Regions from separate parts of the Homo sapiens genome. Here regions 2 and 3 are each linked to region 1. Evidence: promoter capture Hi-C in 16 types of primary human blood cells and fetal thymus (Javierre and others, 2016). All regions are on one chromosome and are shown on one strand. The core of a region is centred on a gene start or on the middle of the fragment in contact, and the rest is flanking DNA. Distances in the headings are between cores, read along the strand shown.

The links. Contacts are between HindIII fragments. The CHiCAGO score rates a contact against its expected background, and 5 or more counts as called.
Region 2: a fragment that was not itself captured here is called in contact with the fragment with the promoter of MOB1B in region 1 in 1 of 17 cell types (M0 macrophages); the score reaches 8.0 in M0 macrophages.
Region 3: a contact is called between a fragment that was not itself captured here and the fragment with the promoter of MOB1B in region 1, in 3 of 17 cell types (M0 macrophages, M1 macrophages and total B cells). The highest score is 7.7, in M0 macrophages.

What each region holds. Positions count from the first base shown.
Region 1 is chr4:70,899,609-70,904,538 of GRCh38, reverse strand. It overlaps MOB1B (MOB kinase activator 1B), which reads right to left and starts at 2,170. Exons shown (of 6, transcript NM_173468.4): 1 at 1,989-2,170. The coding sequence starts at 2,002. LOC124900711 (a long non-coding RNA gene) reads left to right here and starts at 2,308. Exons shown (of 2, transcript XR_007058132.1): 1 at 2,308-2,590; 2 at 4,822-4,930. RefSeq lists silencers at 1,841-1,890, 2,201-2,350. The HindIII fragment of the contact is 2,463 bases long and covers 207-2,669 here.
Region 2 is chr4:70,791,782-70,796,711 of GRCh38, reverse strand. It overlaps RUFY3 (RUN and FYVE domain containing 3), which reads right to left. Exons shown (of 18, transcript NM_001037442.4): 13 at 2,808-2,927; 14 at 1,818-1,917. Among named protein-coding and RNA genes, the nearest start is that of GRSF1, 46 kb to the left of the region's middle. The HindIII fragment of the contact is 421 bases long and covers 1,661-2,081 here.
Region 3 is chr4:70,812,936-70,817,865 of GRCh38, reverse strand. It overlaps GRSF1 (G-rich RNA sequence binding factor 1), which reads left to right. Exons shown (of 10, transcript NM_002092.4): 10 at 1-2,083. Among named protein-coding and RNA genes, the nearest start is that of GRSF1, 24 kb to the left of the region's middle. The HindIII fragment of the contact is 410 bases long and covers 1,939-2,348 here.

The DNA of each region.
Region 1 (4,930 bases), core at 921-3,420:
TCTGCCTGTCTTGGCCTCCCAAAGTGCTGGGATTACAGGCATGAGCCACCGCGACTGGCCTTGCTTTAACCAATTTAGCTTACTAGACACAAGCCCATCAGCAGTAGTCATGGATATCATCTACAGTGCTATTTTGAATACAGCTTCTAAATTCTTGAAAACAATCAAACATTAGCAATGTAAAATTAAGCTCAAGATGAGAAGCTTCAAGTTGAGATACCTGAATATGGTGATTAGAACTAAAACAAGAAACTGCCCAGGCACGGTGGGCTCACGTCTGTAATCCCAGCACTTTGGGAGATCAAGGCAGGCAGATCACTTGAAATCAGGAGTTCGAGACCAGCCTGGCCAACATGGTGAAACCCCCATCTCTATTAAAAATACAAAAATTAGCCAGGCGTGGTGGCGCGGGCCTGTAGTCCCAGCTACTCAGGAGGCTGAGGCAGGAGAATCGCTTGAACCCGGGAGGCAGAGGTTGCAGTGAGCCGAGATCACGCCACTACACACTCCAGCCTGGTGACAGAGCGGAGACTCCGTCTCAAAAAAAAAAAAAAAAAAAAAAAAGAACTAAAATAAGAAACAAGGACTTTTTTATAAAATCACCCAGTCCTGTCATCTAGCCCTATGCCAATCCGACAAACTCAGAATCAACTTCTAGGAGGAGCCTAAGAAATCCCTTTCCGTTTAAAGGTTTTAGGCAAGTTGACACAAGCCAGGTCCCCTATGCATATTGGAAATATCAAGTCTGCCCCTAGGTCAGCCTTGTTCAGTTTTGCTTAAACACCCTAAAAAAAAAAATTCTAGATGTGAGCATGTGAAAATAAGAGTGAATTAAATTCTCAGTATTCAGACGTCAATGTAATGACTAAAAATTATTAGGCAAGGAAAGAAGAGAAATCTTAAGAAAATATCCTTTAAATGCTAATTTCTCCACAACAGTAAAACAGTATATGGGTGAGTTTCAACTTCTAAGTTTTTTATTAGTTTTCTAAACACAGACTAAACATGGAATGAGTGCATCACAACGAAGCCTTCAAAGGAGTTATTCCTCAGGCTGTAACCCCTGTTTTCAGAGGACCTGAGGCTTATCTACTGCCTCCATATCCACATCTGGCCATCCCATCCTTCTGCCCTTCCCCCTCCACGTTCCCCTCCACTCGTCTGGAACAAACGATAAGTAAGTGAAATAATGACCAGCACTAAACATGACGCCAAAGTTGGCATTTACAAATGATTTTCAAAACAACTCCCCAGTGGACCTAATCAACCTAGGCAGGGCACACTATCCAAAACCTATTTGCTGGTTGTCTAAAAAGATAAAACTCATCCTCTTCAGGGAAGTCCTCTGGGAGGAAGGGCGCCTCTAGGAAGCAAGGGGGCGGCTCCAGACCCCTTTCTCAGGGACCCCCGTCTGTGTCCAAGGGATCCCGACCCGCAAGTAGCCTTGTTTCAGTGTTACATCTACAGAACTTGTCATCCCAACTTCCCAGCCCTAAGACGAGAGAGGAAGTTAAAAGGGTCCTGGGATGACAGGGGAAAGTACGACAGTCTTATCTTCTGTGCTTGGGACCCAGAAAAGAGCAATGGGCAGCCGCGACGGAGCCATTCAACCGAGCACCGCTTGGATACGGATTGTGCAGGCGAGTGGGAGATACCCACGAGAAGCGCACAAACAAGCCCGGGAATGCGAGCGAAGGCAGAGACGGGGGTGATGAAGGAATCCAGGCGCTGGCCCCGGGGTGTGCCGGGGGGGAAGAACCTCCTCAGGGCTGCAGGAGCCCACGAGTACTCGAAGCCCTATGGGGAGGCGGCGGTTAGGTAGTCCGAGCGCTCCGCGCAGTCCCGGGGCCCCGCTTGGTGGTGACGCCGGGCCCCGGGAGCGCTGGGCCAGGAGGGTCGGGACGAGGGCGGGCGACGGGCGGCGGGCGGCGGGCGGGGGCCCAGGTCCACCCGAACAAAGCCGGCGCGTGCGGGGCCTGGCTACTCACAACAAGAAGCTCATGTTGGCCGCGGGGCAGGCTGCAGGCTCGGCGGTCGCGAGGCCTCGGAGCGGCGTGGGCCAGGAAAGAAGAGGAAAGGCGAATGGAACAGGAGACAGGGAGGCGGAGGAGGAGGTGCCGAGAGCCGGCTGCTCGGTGGCCGCAACTAGTTCGGCTCAGCTAGTTCCAATGGCAGGGGGAGGGGGCGGAAGTGGGTAGCGCTCGTCTTGAATCACTCCAGGGGAGGGGAAGGAAAGGGAGGCGGGGCAGGCTCTCCGCGAGCCCCTCCCCAGCTCCCCGCCGCCCCCACCTCACGAGCTCTCGCGATAGCGGTGCAAGCCCACCCCGGCCCTCCGGCTGCGGCATGGGGACTCTCACCTTCTGGTCTCCTCTGCTGCTAGGGACGACGCCCAGCGTGTGCGCCGCGGCTGCCCGGCCCCCCTGTCCACCCGGTTAGGAGTCATGGCAGAGCTCTCGGAGCCGCTCAGCTGGGCTCCAGAGGTCAGGGAGGAAGTGGGCTTCAGCTCGGGGATGTCAAGGTCCCGCAGTGAGGGATGGAATTACCACCGGAGTTAGGCCCACCGTGAGTGTCCGGCCAAGGGCGGTGAAAGGTAATGGCATCTCTCAGTTCACCACGGAACCCAGCATGATAGGGTGGTCATCGGTGTAACCACTTAGGGGGCCAAAGCTTGTAAGCATTCTAATGCACAGAACATCCTAGAAGCTAGAAGCTATTCAGACCCACTTACAAAGGGACTTTTATTCTCACAGGGTTATGGGGCCCAGGGCAAGCCTTTATATTCTGTTTAAGAATCCTTCACATACCTTGAATATGTCACCACAGCATTACCAATTTAGGAGGGAAATACGGGTATCGAAGAGATGTCCGTCTTCTTTACTCACAACACCCATCAAATCTACAAGTTTTCAAAGAGAATCTGAGCAAAACAAATCATGTGCAGATATTAGCTCACCTTTGGCTTATCCCAAAGGGCAGAATACACTTTGAAGTAGGTGCAGATATGAAATGTATTATACTGCATATATGCACTATTATTTGGCACGTTGGTAAAGTGGTAAAAAAAAAAAAAAAAAAAAAAAAAAAAAAAAAAAAAAACGTTTTAGGCCGGGCGCAGTGGCTCATGCCTGTAATCCCAGCACTCTGGGAGGCCGAGGTGGGTGGATCACCTGAGGTCAGGAGTTCAAGACCAGCCAAAGTTCAAGACCATGGCCAAACCCCGTCTCTACTAAAAATACAAAAATTAGCCGGGCATGGTGGCACACACTTGTAATCCCAGCTACTCGGGAGGCTGAGGCAGGAGAATTGCTCCAACCCAGGAAGCAGAGGTTGCAGTGAGCCAAGATCATGCCACTACACTCCAGCCTGGGTGACAGAGTTAGACTCCGTCTCAAAAAAAAAATTTTTTAATAGAAGAAAATACTAGAATCTTGCACTATCTCAGGAACAGCAGAGGTTACTGGAATGAGAAAACTTACAGACTCAAAAGATTACCAGATCAGGATAAATAGCTAATGCATGCAGAGCTTAATACCTAGGTGATAAGTTGATAGGTTCAGCACACCACCATGGCACACACGTTTACCTATGTAACAAACCTGCACGTCCTGCACATGTATCCTGGAACTTCAAATTAAATTAAAAATTTTTTAAAAGATTCCCCAAAAAGAAGAAAGAGGAGGATTTATCTGAATGAAAATAATAGATTTATGGTATAAAACCCTGTGCTCCAAATATTGATATGGTACTGACTTACTGTATAATTCTTTTTTTTTTTTTTTTTTTTGAGACGGAGTCTCACTCTGTCACCCAGGCTGGAGTCCAGTGGTGCAACTTCTGGACTAGGCTCACTGCAACTTCTGCCTCCTGGGTTCAAACAATTCTGCCTCAGCCTCCTAAGTAGCTGGGATTACAGGCCTGTGCCACCACACCTGGCTAATTTTTGAATTTTTAGTAGAGACGGGGTTTTACTATGTTGGCCAGGCTGGTCTCAAACTCCTGACCTCGTGATCTGCCTGCCTTGGCCTCCCAATATGCTGGAATTACAGGCGTGAGCCACCACGCCCAGCCCTGTATGATTCTTGTAAGGGTCTTCTGAAAGTAAGACTTGCATTACCAGATTACTGATTATCTTTGGAAAGAGTGAGTTGACCTGTCATAGCCTCAGTTTTAGCCCATTTAAAATGGGAGCCTTCTATCATTACATGATCTCTAAAATATCTTCCAGTTCTAAAGTTCTCTCCTGCCAGGGGCATCCTTCAAATGACTGGCACACATTTCCAAACTGCTCCCTGATTTGGCTTAGGTAGCCTTAGTTTTGGTCTGACATAATTTAGATGTATCCTGTGACACTGAATAAGGGAAAACTGGCAGAGGAAAGAATCTGCAAAAATACCTTCTGAGTATTTCTTTATCATACCACTAGGAGAGTTGCCTGGAATTAACATCCAATAAAACGTAAATATACTGGTCCTAAATGTGAGGGAGGTGTCAGGTTAATAATATACAATATGATTCCAGGTTAGACTTTAAATCAAATGATGTCTGTCATATAAAATTATTCAGCATATCAAAAACATTGGGAATTTCAGAATCAAAGAGAGTTTATATTCAAATAGATATTTATAATTATCATCTCTTCTGACCAAAATCTAATAACCTTTTGTTTATGAAGCAAGATTATTAAAATTTTTGTTCTATCCAACTTTTCAAAGAATTGAAATTATACTGTAACATGTACAGAATAGAACAGAACATGAGTGGGCATATGCTCTTTAAATATTCATTTGAATAAAGACACATGCACATGTTTGTTTATTGCAGCACTATTTACCGTAGCGAAGACTTGGAACCAACCCAAATGCCCATCAACGAGAGACTGGATAAAGAAAATGTGGCACATATACACCATGGAATACTATGCAACCATAAA
Region 2 (4,930 bases), core at 622-3,121, 110 kb after region 1:
CTGCAGTAGCAGACTATCCACATCAATTTGTGAGGATCTTGTTCATGCTCTAATTGAAGAGGACCAACAATTAACAGTAGAAACAATAGCCAACACCACAGATATCTCAATTGGTTAGGCTTATACAATTCTGGTTGAAAAATTAAAGTTGAGTAAACTTTCTACTTGATGGGTGCCAAAACTGTTGTGCCCGTATCAGCTGCAGACAAAAGTATAGCTTTCAATGGAAATTATAAACAAGTGGGATCAAGAACCTGAAGCATTTGTTTGAGAAATTGTAACAGGAGATGTAACAACTTCATAGTACAATCCTGAAGACAAAGCACAATCAAAGCAATGGCTATGAAGAGGTGGAAGTGGTGCAATCAAAGCAAAAGCAGACGGGTCAAAAGCAAAGGTCATGGCAACAGTTTTTAGGGATGCTGAAGGCATTTTGCTTGTTGACTTTCTGGAAGGCCAGAGAATGCCAACATCTGCTTATTGTGAGAGTGTTTTTAATTTTTTTTATTTTTGGGGACAGAGTGTTGCTCTGTCACCCAGGCTGGAGTGCAGTGGTGTGATCTTGGCTCACTGCAACCTCTACCTCCCAGGTTCAAGTGATTCTCATGCCTCAGCCTCCCAAGTAGCTGGGACTAGAGACTAGAGGCATGTGCCACCACACCTGGCTAATACTTGTGATGAATGTTTTGAGAAAGTTAGCCAAAGTTTTAGCACAAAAATGCCCAGGAAAGCTTCAACAGAGAGTGCTATTCCACCAGAAATATGCTCCTAACTCATTCCTCTCATCAGACAATGGCAATTCTGTGAGAGTTATGATGGGAAATCATTAGGCATCCACTTTACAGTCCTGATTTGGTGCCTCTGATTTCTTTTTGTTTCCTAATCTTAAAACATCATTAAAGTGCACCAATTTTTCTTCAGTTAATAATGTAAAAAAGATTGTATTGATATGATTAAATTCCTAGGACCCTCAGTTCTTCAGGGATGGCCTACATGACTAGTATCATCACTTACTAAAGTCTCTTGAACTTGATGGAACTTAGGTTGAGAAATAAAGTTTATATATCTTTACCTTTTAATTCCATTTCCCATGATCTTTTTGAAGTCGCCTTGTATAATATGTACACACAGAAGGCAATTTTTTCACTGTCTTTTACAGAAAAAGTTATTTTATGTTTTTCTGATTTCATTATTTCCTGGGCCCCAGAGATGATCTTACCCAATTGTAGCTCCTTCATCACTGGAGGTGCTGGAGGGGTCTCCTTCTAAGATTATTATGTAGAAATTTCTACTTTTGCTCTTTATTCTGTATTACCTTCCTTTCCTCAAGCCTAATTCCCTAATTATTCCCACGAGAAGTTCCTTAAGGATACTCAAAATGAAATCCTCATGATTTGAAAAAGGTATACAGAAGCAAATCCACATTGAGGAAAATTCTGTTAAAGGGGAATTCAGGGTTGGAGAGGGATTATTATACTATTTTATTAAAATTATTATTTAGCAGAAATCCAAGAAACATATATTTTTGTTAAGACACCAAAATAATCTTACTTAAAAAATTATTAAAAGGGAAATAGGGTCACTGTGATTATTAAAATCCCCCTTTCCAAATGAAATCAAGTTGGAGAAAGTATCCTAGAGGCAGACTCAGAATCAAGCTTTCATTTGTTCACATAATTACTAGTTTGCTATCTACATACTTGAGGACACAGCCACTAAGTATGTGATCTGTAAAGGAAAACTGACAGGACTATCAAGGTAGCCTCTAAAATTTAAACTGAAATTAAGTAAAAGAACAAGGGAATAGCAAATATTACCATCTTGGATTCTGACTTCTGGGAACCCCTTCCTGGGATGCTCCTGTCGTTTTGTAATCTTCTTTCTTTTTCCTGTTTTAGTTCTAACTCAAGCTGGTTCCTGAGGTAAGTTGGAGAGGAAAAGGATGAAAAATTGGAATTCTATACAGACATATTCTCTAAAGAATGCCAACCCCTTGTCTTAAAGTGCAGTAATTACGAATGGTTAAGGGCTTGCTGTCAGAGAGACAGGTTTTTAAATGATAATGTTGCTACTTCTAAGCTTAACTGTGTGAATCTGGACACATTTAACCTGTCTAATCTCTACCTTTTTTTGAGATGGAGTCTTGTTCTGTTGCCAGGCTGGAGTGCAGTGGCATGATCTCAGGTCACCGTAACCTCCATTTCCTAGGTTCAAGCAATTCTCCTGCCTCAGCCTCCCGAGTAGCTGGGATTACTGGCACCCACCACTATGTCTGGCAAATTTTTGTATTTTTAGTAGAGATGGGGTTTCACCATCTTGGCCAGGCTGGTCTGGAACTCCTGACCTCAGGTGATACACCTGCCTTGGCCTCCCAAAGTGCTGGGATTACAGGCATGAACCACTGCGCCCAGCCTTAAGCTCTACTTTAATCTGAAAGTGGAGGCAATAATATCACTAATAGGGTTGATATGAAGATATTAGGAGAGTTTGCATGTGAAGTGCCTAAAGTATCTGGCACACAGTAAGAATTCAGGAAATATTACATATTATTATTAGTGTTATTTTGGCTAATAATTACTATTTATCTGGGATCTTGGGCTCTAATTTCCTAATTCTTTGATCACAAAGCATGTTGATCGGATTTGGGGAATGTTGAAGTACGTGAAGCTTTCTGAATTCCAATTCCAGAGAAAGGACATTGCAAAGACAGAGCCAACCTGGCTGGAAGTCATGAGACCCCTTTTCTTGCTGTCTACCCTAAGAATTACCCATGACCACCCTGTCAGCTCAAGCTACCCCCTCTTCACCGCTGCCTGGTGAGCTCCTCGACTTCCAGCTGCAGACTGTTGATCTTGTCTCCAAAGTCCTGTTTGAAGAGCCGGTTGTCCAACTCAGCAGATTGGCGGCTTCGCTCAGCCTGGCGCAATCTGGATGTGAGCCACATGAACTTGTGATAAAAAACAAAAGCCATGGTGGGGAAGAAGACCAAGTTCACAACACAAAATAAAATAACCCAAGGAAGAATGCACAGAGAGACAGAGAGAGGAAAAAAACTTTGCAGGACACAGGTGAAGAAATTATGGGGGGGAAAAGATGGAGAAGAAACAAATTCTAAAGAAAAGTAAGATGAAGGTGAACCAGGCAGAGGAAAAGCTGATTTTCCATTTTTTTTATTCTAGTACTACAGTTTACAGCCATTAGATGATAAACAATAAAACATCACTTTTTAGAAAATCCATATCCAAAGCCAACCTCAAGTACACAGTAATTTAAGTTAAATCCACTTTTTAAAAAAATTTCCTAATAGGTTTGGTACTTAATTTTTCTGTTTTACACACATAACTGGAACTTGTAAATGGGCAACTACCTTCTTATATGTGGAATTATAGTTTTTTCTTGTCCTTTCCCCCAAACCACATATATTAAATCATGGGACATTATATATCAACCCTCACCTAGGCTTTGGGTTATTCTATAAGGAAAAGCCTTTGTCAGAGTTTGGCTGTCTCCTTCCTTTCCCATTCCCACAAAAGATGTGTGACTAAGTGGACAAAGAACTCAGCACTGGGCCTGTTTAAGACTCTGACCATATTCTCCAGAAGATTCTGATGGATGTTTTCTTCTACATATCTTATAACTTTGCACCTATAGAGAAGCATGTTTTAGAAGGTAAAGCACTTGGGGCTTTATATAATAGAATTTAAACGCATGCTATGTGTAGGTTTTAGAAAGTTCAATTTCGGTATTTGATCACTCCTTCCAAATGCTCGTAGAAAAGGCAACCCATCACCACAAAAGGTTGATGAAGAGAAGAATACAGTAGGAGCTTTGTTTATATAGGTGCAAATTATAAGAATTAAAATAAGTTCAAGAGCACAGGATCTTCCACTTCCATGAAGTTGGTCTAAACATATGTTCTTTGGACTTAATTTTGGTTCAAGTCCAATCTGTGCAGGGACCTATATAAGCACACATGGAATCTATCTTACACTCTTAATTCTGGTTTTGCCAAGAAAAAGATAAAGAATTTTAAGAGCTGGAAGCGAAGGGGTTATCTGTGTCCCCACCAAAGCAGCTGAAATGCTGCAAAGCATACCAGAATGAAAAAAAGAGAAAAAAACCCAAGTATTTTGTCAGGACCTTTTGAAGGAATGAAGGCTTATGTAAAGCCTGTCTCTTCAAATCAAAAATCATCTTAAAAAATCAAACTGTTTATAGGATTATTTACAATGTTAAAGCCTAGAAAGGGTTAGTCTGTGGTCACTTAGAAACAGAAGCCCTGCTAATATTGCTTGTGGATATCTACTGGGAATCTATTTTTGTACTAAATAATAATAAAGAATATAAGTTTATCATTTACTTCCTATTCTGAAATGTTTTTCTAATAATTCAATTATTAGCTTCCCAGAACCTTTAGCAAATCCCCATCTGAACAAAAAGTAACAGAAACTCTTAAGTAAATGTTTCCAGGTAAGAAATGACAGGCCAGGCAGAATATCATCATTCATGTCTATACCCTGTCCTTTTTACTCCAATATAAGAAAAGCAGGATACGAAAAATGGGTACTGCATCATTTTTTGTTAATAGGAGAGGAGTGTTTTTATTAGAATTGTTCTCTCTGAACTGCCTAAGTAGGAAGCGGAATTGCAGGAAAACGGCAGAGGTAGAAGATGACAAACATGAGGAGGGTTTCCCCAGGCGTCCACATTATTATGTTATCATAGGTTACCTAATTACTAACTTTATTTCTATGTATTTTAAAGAAATATAAGGATGCTGCTTTTTCTTTTCTTTTTTTTTCAAAAGTCACCAAGGCAAAAAAAGTTGCAAGCAATCTTGGTTACTGAGAATAGAAGTGTAGTGAAATACTAAGTACTATCCTTGGCTTGGGGATTAAACCTATATAACAAAAGTGAAAAGGGGTCATGG
Region 3 (4,930 bases), core at 894-3,393, 87 kb after region 1:
AAATTAGAAGAGAATCTGAAGTTTGTAGGAAGGGAATAAAGCTGCTATAAACATTTATGTGCAGGTTTTTGTGTAGACTCGTTTTCAGCTCCTTTGGGTAAATACCAAGGAACCAGGTTGCTGGATTGTAAGTTAAGAGTATGTTTAGTTTTGGAAGAAACTGCCAAACTGTTCCAACATGACTATTTTGAATTCCCATTGACAATGAATAAGAGTTCCTGTAGCTCCTCACCCTCATTAGTATTTGGTGATGTCACTCTTGCATTTTAGCTAATGGGTGAATAGTGGTCTCATCGTTTTAATTCCCAATCCCATAGTGATGTGGAGCACCTTTTCATATACTTAATCTGCCATCCTTATATCATCATTGGTGAGGTGTCTGGATTTTCTGTCCAGAATTTTAGTTCTAGTGGTTTTCTTATTTTTAGAAAGGAAGTATAGGAAGGAAGGTTTAATCTGTCTTAAGCCTGATTATATGAAAATCAAGAATAGGCTAGGTGTGGTGGCTGACATCTGTAATCCCCGCACTTTGTGAGGCTGAAGTGGGAGGACTGCTTGAGCCTGGGAAGTCAAGCCTGCAGTGAGCCATGACTGTTGCTGCACTCCAGCCTGAGTGACAGAGTGAGACCCTGTCTCAGAAAAAAAAAAAGCAGGCTCATTTTAAAGTTGTTTATATTTTATTTTTTGAAGGAAATAAACTTGAAGAGATACAAACGGTAGTGAAGATTCTCCTTCCCCTCCTGTAATTCAGCTGTTTAGTTTCTATTCTCGCACAGCCCTGTTATCAGTTTCTAGTGTAAGCTTGCAGTGACTTTTACTTTATTTATAAGCAAGTGTTAGTGGGTGTTGTCATTTCTTTTAAAAATATAAATTATACTGTACATGCTATTTTGTATTTTGGCTTTTCTCCCACCTAAACACCCTAAAGATCATTTTCTGTCAGTATATAAAATCTTGGTGATGCCAATACCCATCCCTTAGATTGTACAAGCAGCATTTTGCCATGCTTTATCCCATAGCCTGCCTCCTGCAGTCTCATCTTTTTTTCTATATGCATGTCCAAGTAAGTTGTAGACATTTTTCACTTTTAATCCTTTCAGCATACATGTCATGGGAATTTGTTTTTGTTTTTGTTTTTTGTGTTTGAGACAGTCGCTCTGTCACCCAGGCTGGAGTTATAGTGACGTGATCCCAGCTCATTACAGCCTCCACCTCCCAGTTTCAAGCAATTCTCATGCCTCAGATTCCCGAGTAGCTGGGATTACAGATGTGCACCACCACGCCTGACTAATTTTTGTATTTTTAGTAGAGATGGGGTTTCATCATGTTGGCCAGGCTGGTCTGGAACTCCTGGCCTCCAGTCATTTGCCTGCCTCGGCCTCCCAAAGTGCTGGGATTACAGGCATCAGCCACCACACCCAGCCGTCATTGGAGTTTTTTTGAGGGAGATTTGCAGTAAGGTGAATAAATGTTAAGTGTATCATTTGATGAGGTTTTTTCTTTTTTTTTTTTTTTTTTTGAGATGGAGTCTTGTATCGCCCAGGCTAGAGTGCAGTGGCCTGGTCTTGGCTCACTGCAACCTCCACCTCCTGGGTTCAAGGGAGTCTCCTGCCTCAGCCTCCCGAGTAGCTGGGATTACAGGTGTGAGCCACCATACCCAGACTCATTTGATGAGTTTTGATGTAAAAGCATGTAACTCAAACCCCTATGTCTGGAACATCTGTATTACATCTGAATTTTTTCACCTAGTCAATTCCTGCACCTCTCTCTCCTGTCCCTTCTTCCCTCCCCTGGCAGTCAGCTACTGTTAGGATTTTGTTCACTGTAGATTAATTTTGCCTATTCTAGAACTTCATATAACGGACTCACTTATGCAGTATGTATTCTGTAAGTTCCTTTTACTCAGCATGTTTGTATGTTCATCAGTGTGTTTAAGCTTTGTTCCTTTTTATGGCTGAGCAGTGTTCTATGTATGAATGCCACATTTTAACGTTTCACCTGTTAGGTGAACAACTAACTGGTGAACAATGGGCTGTTTCTAGTTTGGGGCTATCATGAATAAAGTTGGTATGAACATGTACAACCTTTTTGTGAACCTACATTTTAATTTAATTTAATTTGGATAAGTATTTAGGAGTGAGATTATCCTGAGTTGATGTATTTTAAATTTTACTAGAAGACGACAAACCTTTTCCTAAATGGTTATCCTGGTTTACATTCCCAGAGTTCTAGTAGGTCCATATCCTTACCATTTGCTGTTGTCAGTCTATAATTTTAGCCATTGTGTAGTGGTATCTTCTGGTTTTAATTTGCATTCCCTGACAATGAATAGTACTTTTTCATAAGCTTACTAGCCATTTGGATATCTTTAGTAAAGTTGAAGTGTCTGTTTCTTCTCTTATTCAGGATGTTTTGCCATCCATTTATTTTTTTCTTATTTGCTGAAGAAATAAGATTAACCTGTAGGTTTCCATAATCTGAGTTTGGCTGATTGCCTTTGTGTGATGTTTATTAACCGCTTTTCTATTGGCTTTGGTCTTTTAACTAATCTGCAGGAGTACTTTGTTCCTATAGTGAGCTTTAAATACCTTTTCCCCCCAGTTTGTCCTCTTTGTTTGCTCATGATGGCAGAAACTATTTTTACATCGCTGAATTCTTAAATCTCCCCTTTTATAGTTTCAAGGTTTTATGTCAGCATTAGAACATCTTAGTGAAATGGTTCTGAAAGCACTTGGGGATAAAGCATGAAGGTGTATAACCAAAGTAGACTCTAGAATATGGATGGATTCATTGAAGGTCACAAGGATCACCAAGATATGTTTAAGAATCTTAATTTGAAGCCCACAGGCAAAATTTAACAAGTTTATTCAAAGACTTGTGATTTGAAAACATACCTGGTTATGGCCTGGCTTGGTGGCTCATTCCTGTAATCCCAGCACTTTGGGAGGCCGAGGTGGGCGAATCACCTGAGGCCAGGAGTTCGAGACTAGCCTGGCCAACATGGTGAAACCCTGTCTGTACTAAAAATATAAAAGTTAGCCGGGTGTGATAGTGCATGCCTATAATCCCAGCTACTTGGGAGGCTGAGGAGAATTGCTTGAACCAGGGAGGCAGAGGTTGCAGTGAGCCGGGATCACGCCACTGCACTCCATCCTGGGCAACAGAGTGAGACTCCGTCTCAAAAACAAAAACAAACAAAAATACCTGGTTATGATGGAAATAAAGAGGTTCTGAACCTTTGCTGCTGCTGCTTGACAGAAGATGGCAGACATTTGGGAATAAAGACCAAGAGCTAGGGAGACAAGTTATTAACAGTTTCTGATGGGCTGGCTGTTGATTCATTCATTTCTTGCCTCCTCAAGAAAGCAAGATGGGGCTGAGCATGGTGGCTCACACCTGTAATTCTAGCACTTTGGGAGGCCGGGGCAGGTGGATCACCTGAGCTTAGAAGTTTGAGACCAGCCTGGGCAACATGGTGAAACCCATCTCTACCAAAAATACAAAAACTAGCTAGCCATGGTGGCTCACGCCTGTAGTTCCAGCTACTCAGGAGGCTGAGGTGGGAGTATCACTGGAGCCTGGGAAGTGGAAGCTGAGATCACACAGGTTACACCACTGCACTCCAGCCTGGGTAACAGCAAGACAAAAATAAATTGCGGAATACGAGCAATGTTATGCTAGAAGAACATAGTATTTGTGATAGATGTTGTAATTGAATATGAATGATACTTTATTTTTTCTTAACTTTACCTTCCACCAGCTCACTCCATGAATGATACTTTTGTGCCATAAAGCAGCATCCAGAATGCTAAGTCATTACTGCTTTCTGGAGACTTGTACAGCTTTTTCACTGTACTTGCCCTTGCCCTTTGGAAGCCTGAGTTACCTCTTCTTTTCCATGCTTAATTAAGTCTTAGGGATCTGATATCCTCAGTGATGCTTACAACCGCTTGCTGGATTTTTTTTTTTTTTAAATATAGGGTCTCACTCTGTCGCCCAGGTCGGAGTGCAATAGCGCAATCTTGGCTCACTGCAACCTCTGCCTCCTGGGTTCAAGCGATTCTCCTATCTCAGCCTCCCGAGTAGCTGGTATTACAGGCATGTGCCACCACGCCAAGCCAATTTTTGTACTTTTAGTAAAGATGGGGTTTCACTACATGACTGGCCTCGAACTCCTGGCCTCAAGTGATCTGCCTGCCTCGGCCTGCCAAAGTACTGGGATTACAGGTGTGAGCCACTGCACCTGGCCTACTGGTTCTATTTTTAAATTAATTTTACATTTCAAGATAATTCACTGACTAAAGTTTGTGCCACTTATTCTAGGTGTAGAAATTGTGCTTGTCAGATACGTGGTTTCTGATTTGGTATATTGACTGGCATGCTTACAAGAATCTTTATACCAAAGTAGTGTGTTAACATCAAAATTAATCTGTTCCCAGCATGGGAGACCTGTCATCGATGACAGTTCCCAAACCAGCTATTGTCTAAGAATTATTAAGATTTGACTTGGGATAACTTTTTGGGTAATATATTAGGCTAAGTTAATTTGAAGGAAGTTTTACTGTAAATCAAAACAGGACCACTAAACTACTGAAATATAATTATTTAAAAACCGCCCCCATTTTTTGGTGAACAAAGCTGAAATGAGGCTGTAATGGAGAACCTCCTTTCACAGAATGGTTAAATGTCCTTTAAGAGTTTCATCATATGTTTTTATAACTTGACTTATAGTGAATGAACTAAGGACTTTGTCATAGTTCCGATCTGCTTATCAACCTTGCAAAACTTGGAGTCTATTTGGAAATAAGTAAGAACTCAAACTGCATTTAGGGATGAGTTCAGTCAGGTTCTATAGGGTTAGACCTATACTTGCTTTGAGTATGAAAGCACAATTTTTTAATATATAAACTTTATTTTAGAGTAGTTTTAG